Regions from separate parts of the Homo sapiens genome. Here region 2 is linked to region 1. Evidence: promoter capture Hi-C in human tissues and cell types (Jung and others, 2019). All regions are on one chromosome and are shown on one strand. The core of a region is centred on a gene start or on the middle of the fragment in contact, and the rest is flanking DNA. Distances in the headings are between cores, read along the strand shown.

Region 1 (2,777 bases), core at 99-2,598:
TTAGTTCATGTCCAGCTTTCTTCGTGTTCATTTTACTCAAGGGCATACCTTCCTTTTTCTGCTTCTTTTTTTTCTTTCTTTCTTGGACACCTCCAACCCCCATTGACAACCGAAATGCAGGGCTATAAACATAAGGGTGCAATACATCATGAGATAAGTCTGGAGAACATGTCCTCTACCAAAATGCACATGAATCTCTGGTACAGCTAAAATTCCAGAAACATGCTGGGGTTCCTTTTGCATGCTAAGCAGGGTCAAAAATGTGAGCACTATGTGGTTGCCCTTATATATCAGATGAGCTCTAAAGTTGAAAGGTTACATTTGTGAAATTGCGGCTGGGTTTCCTAGCACTTGATTCTAGCTCCTGCAAATCAAAGACTCCTAATTGAAATACAAATCCAACAATATGATAATCTTTCAGTAAAAAAAAAAAAAAAAAAAAAACGTGACTTCTGCACCCTTATCTGTTGAAGAGCTGACAGAGAAGTTCAGAGGCAGTTGTTTAACCAGACAAAATGATAGAGAAAATATGTTTTCAAATAAGATCATAAACCTTGAACAGTGCCTTGTGGGAAGCAAATGTAAAGCAAAGGGCTGTCCTCTATTCTGTCTACCAGCTCTACTCCCCCACCCCGGTGTGTATCCTCAGCCACTCACCTTTTAGGCAAGGGCTAGTGTCTTTCAGGACAGACCCAAACCCCAAATACCAAAACAGAATAAAGTAGTGTCTTAGCATACTTTGAGATCAGACTGTTTCTGCATTTCACAGTGCTGGGGGTGGGGGGGAGGTGTGGGGGGAAGGGAAAAGCAGCATACCAATGTAGTGAAATCTGGAAACAACAGCATATATACAGACACAAAAAAAGTTTGCATATTGCACAGAGCACTTGAAGATCATAAATCTATGCATGAGAAAGATGTAGTGGAAATTTTGGGGGGGATTAGAGTTTATTTTTGTCATCTCTGTGAGACAGCTACTCATTCATCCAGATCACAGCTAAGAAAAAAGCTGGTCACAGAAATTAGCAGTTTCAGCTCAGCAGCGAAGTCGCCAGCCTGTGAAGGCAGAGAGAAATTGACTAATTAGCAATGCGCACTAAAACTTGACGGTTCTTTATAGAGAGAGAGAAGAGAGAGGGAGAGAGAGGGAGAGGGAGGGAGGGGGGGCTCGCTTTTTCCCCTTCTTTCTTCCAAAGATGTTTGAAATCGCAGTCATTTACGCTCGACAATTTTTACAATAGCCTTGAGCCATAATTTTGCGAGTCTCTCCAGCATCCATCCCCCTGTATGGTCTCTCTCTACTGGCCAAGCACGACCGTTTCTCTCCCCAACCGTGGATTTCCTATTACTCTCGTTACGACTCACTGAGCCCCAGGCCCAAGGATAATGATGTGTTGTTTCTTGGTAGCATAATTTGTCACACGTACATTTTTTCTTCTTCTTCTCTTGCAGAAAGCTCTGCTCCCTCTCTCTCTCCCTCTCTCTTTCTCTCTTTTCTCCCTCTCCTACATTTTCTTGCTGTTGCTAATTCATGGTGATCAAATGATGTACGACAAAATAAATTGTAAAGAGTGACTGCCTGGAGTTGGGAACCAGAAGGTGTTTTCCCCCTCCCAAGGAGACAGCAAACCTTTAAAAAGGAAGGACAATTGATTTTTGGGGGGAGCTTAAGTGAGCCTTGACTTTGCAGCTGGTTGAGAACAGGTAAGTTTCTGGCCTTGTGTCTGCCTTGTGTGTATTTTGTTCTGTCTTTTGGATTGTTGGAGGGGGAAGGGCCGGGGAGGGAGTCTTTCAGAGGGGTTGGCGGGGGGGTAGTTGTATGGCAAACGCTCATAAAGAAAAAACTCCTATTGCAAGAAATAAGCAGATGAGGAGGAAAGGCAAGGGAGAAGAACAAGAAGGAAGGGGAATAGGAAAAGATGGGGCGGGGGGAGACAACGAAGCGGAGAGAGCTAGAGAGAGGTATGACCGGGTCCTCTTAAAGGGAGAGAGACTCTGTAAGATGTTTCAGGCAAGCCAGAGCTTTGGGGGCGGGCGTGGGGGTGCTGCCGGCGGAGGGAGCGCGAGGGAGGGTAGGGTCCACCTGGAACGGGATGGTAAAGTGAGTCGAAAGGAGCCCAGTCCGGTATAAATAGGAAGCCGGCGATCCAGGACCGGCGCCAGGCAGGGCAGAGTGAGCCGCAGTGGAAGGGGCAGGTCCGCCGGGATCCCTCCGAGCCGGGCGGCGGCGGCGGCTCTCCCCCGGGCGGGCGGGCCGGCGGGCCGGCGGGCCGGCGCGCGGGCGGGATGCAAGCAGAGGGTCCCTTTCTGCTCAGCCCTGGAAGGTGCAATTACAGGTTAAGGACCTGGCGTATCGATTTCGCCTCGCCTCCCCCACCCTGCCCTCCTCTGCCTAGATGCGGGCGGCTCAGACTTTTTACAGAAGTAGTTCCAGGGCCGGGGAAGTGGGGGTGCCCGAGTGGGGGGCCGCTGGGGGCTCTACCGAGGGGGTCAGAAGGGAGCTGCGGCTGCAGGCGACGATGCTGGGTGGGGCGCAGAGACCCCGCACCCCACTGCTCCCCCGCCCCCCCGCTCGTTCGACAGCCCCCACCCCTCCCCCAACACCTGCCTTCTAACTTGAACTTCTCATAGTTACTGGAGTTAAAGCGACTGCGCCTGGTGCCCGGGAGGGGAAACCGTGCACACGAATCCCTCCCGGCCTCCAGGCCTCCCGGCTCCCTCTCCAAACGCGTCCTCGCAGCCCCACTTCCTCCCCCTGAGTCCTCGGTGCCGCCCCT
Region 2 (2,777 bases), core at 140-2,639, 48 kb before region 1:
AATATTTTTAAAAAAAAGAACTAGGAAAACTTGGTAAGAAACAAATACCAATTGTTTTGCCAACTTGATTTATCATAAGGGAATTGAGAAAATGCATTATAATTCTCCAATATTTTGAATAGGAAACATGGTCAGAAATTTTTATCTTGCAAACTCAAATGCAGATACTTTTTAAGGGTGTGTAAATATATATATGATATATATACAATAATTATACAAATTATACAATAATTTGTATTATTATACAATAATTTGTATAAATTTAAGAGATACAAGTGCAGTTTTGTTTCATGTATATATTGCACAGTGATGAGGTCTGGTTTTTTCCATGTAATCATCACCTGAATAATTGTACCTATTAAGTAATTTTTCATCCCTCACCCCATCCAATCTTCCCACTTTTCTAGTCTCTGAAGTCTATTATTTCACACTATCTATCCATATGTATACATGATTTAGCTCCCACTTATAAGTGAGGATATATGATATTTGAACTCTAAAAGCATATTTTATTTCTGCACCAACTTTTTCCTCACTCCATCCCACTCATGCATTTTTTCAAATAAATATTTTTATTGATACACAGATAGAAAAAGTACACAAATCATAAGTGTGAAGCTCAGCGAATTTTTACACAAGGAACACACCTGTATCACCACCGTTCAGATAAGGAATAAAATATCACTAACACCACAGAAGCCCTCCCTTGCCCCTCTCTCAGTCCCTAACCCTAACTTCCTCTCCAAAGATAACACTATCCTGACTTGTAACACCCAATTTTCATATTAATATAATGAATGACATCATATGTACCTGTACCCTTTTGTGTCTGACATTCATTCAACGTTGTAAGAGTTATTCATGTTATTGTATATACAATGGTTTATTCATTTTCATTGCTGTGAGGAATTCCATTGTGTGAATATACTAGACCTTATCCATACTGTTGATAGACAACTAGGTTGTTACCAGTTTTTAACTATTATGAGTAATGCTGCTATAAACTTTTATACATACATAGGTATATGTGTGTATGTATATATACATATGAGTATGTACCTATTTATGATATATCATGTATATAATCTGCAAGTATGTACATGATAGAAGATATATATCTTTTGGTGCATATATGTATATATCTTTTGGTACACATGTGTATGCATTTCTGTTGGACTGGTATTGCTAAGTAACAGGGATATGTACATGTCCAGTTTTAGTATTAGTAGATACAAATGGTTTTCCAAAGTAGTTGTTCCAGTTTACAATCCCGTCAGCAGTGTATGAAAATTCCAGTTGCTCCCCAGTTTAATCCACACTGGGATTAAGACAGCTTCCCAGTCTTTTACATTTTAATCTTTCTGGTGAATGTATAATGTTACTTCACAGTTTTAAATTTTTATTTCCTTAGTGATTAATGATGTTGAGCACTTTCTCATATACTTACTGTCAAAAGAGATTATTTTGCCTATTTTTCTATTTGAGTTGGCTTTTTTCTTACTGATTTGTAGACATTGTTTATATATTTTTGAATACAAGCACTTTGTTGCATATATATATACATATATATATATATATATATATATATATAGCAAATATCTTTCTTATGGCTTAGCATCTTACTGTGTTTGGGATGTGGTTTGATAAACAACTTGTATTCTTCTTTATCAATCTCTTCCTTTATGCTTACTGCTCTTTTGTGTCACTTTTTAGAAATTTCGACAACCCAAGGTCATGAATACATTCTTTCTTATAAGCTTTAATGTTCTATCTTCCTATATAAGCCTATAGTCCTCCTAAGATTGACTTTTGTTTTCAGCGTGGTTTCTCAACCTTAGCACTATTGACATTTTGGACAGGCCAAGTCTTCATTGTGTAGAGACTCTCCTGTGCCTTGTAGGACATTTAGCAGCATCGCTTGCCTGTACCCACTAAGTACCATAGCATGTCCCATCCTAAGTCATGACAATCAGTGATGTCTCCAGTCATTGCTGGATGTCCAAGGGAGCAGGAAGGCCAAAACTGTCCCTGTTAAGAACCACTGACTTATGCTATTAAGTGGGAACCATGGTGATATTCAATTGACTTGCCACTACTACTAGAATGGTATTCTCCACGCTCTGCCTTGTCACCAGTATCACAAATCAGAAGACCATATATGTTCAAGAGACTAAAATGTTCTTTCTGGACTCTTTATTCCATCGGTTTCAAAACCAATACTCATGTCAATATGACACTGTTTTATTATAAAGCTATGGTAATCAAGACTTGATATCTAGCCGTACATATATTCCAATTTTGATCTCCACAGTTTCTTTTACTATTCCTGCATCTTTGCCTTTTCATCTTAGAATGAGCTTGTCAATTTCCATTAAAAAAAAAAAACTACTGGAATGTTCACTGGGATTACATTAAATCTATAAATCAACTTGGTAAAATTGACATTTTGGAAATATTGAGACTTCTAATTCTGGACCATAATATATCCACCCCCTTTAATTAATTCTTTAATTTCTCTCAACAGTGTTTTATGGTTTTTGGTGTAGATTTTCTACACATCCTCCCTTAGATTTATTTCAAGGTATTTGACTATGTAGATACTATTACAAATAAATTTTCTTTAAATTTTTTAACACCTTCTAATATATAGGAATATATCTCATTTTTTACATTGAGTTTGTGCTAGTTACATAGTTAAATTTATTTATTTATTCTGACACTTTATATTTGAATTTTTGAACATTTTCTGCACACTTACATCATCTTATGTAGTTAGG

The links. The method cuts DNA at HindIII sites, captures the fragments that hold promoters and counts their contacts. A contact is called where the count stands out against the background at its distance.
Region 2: a fragment that was not itself captured here is called in contact with the fragment with the promoter of KLHL14 in region 1 in 1 of the 25 tissues and cell types used here (lymphoblastoid cells).

Annotation. Positions count from the first base shown.
Region 1 is chr18:32,771,594-32,774,370 of GRCh38, reverse strand. It overlaps KLHL14 (kelch like family member 14), which reads left to right and starts at 1,348. Exons shown (of 9, transcript NM_020805.3): 1 at 1,348-1,704. It overlaps LOC105372055 (a long non-coding RNA gene), which reads right to left. Exons shown (of 2, transcript XR_935342.4): 1 at 2,084-2,777; 2 at 930-1,056. The HindIII fragment of the contact is 6,474 bases long and covers 527-2,777 here.
Region 2 is chr18:32,819,142-32,821,918 of GRCh38, reverse strand. No RefSeq gene overlaps it. Among named protein-coding and RNA genes, the nearest start is that of KLHL14, 48 kb to the right of the region's middle. The HindIII fragment of the contact is 5,004 bases long and covers 1-2,777 here.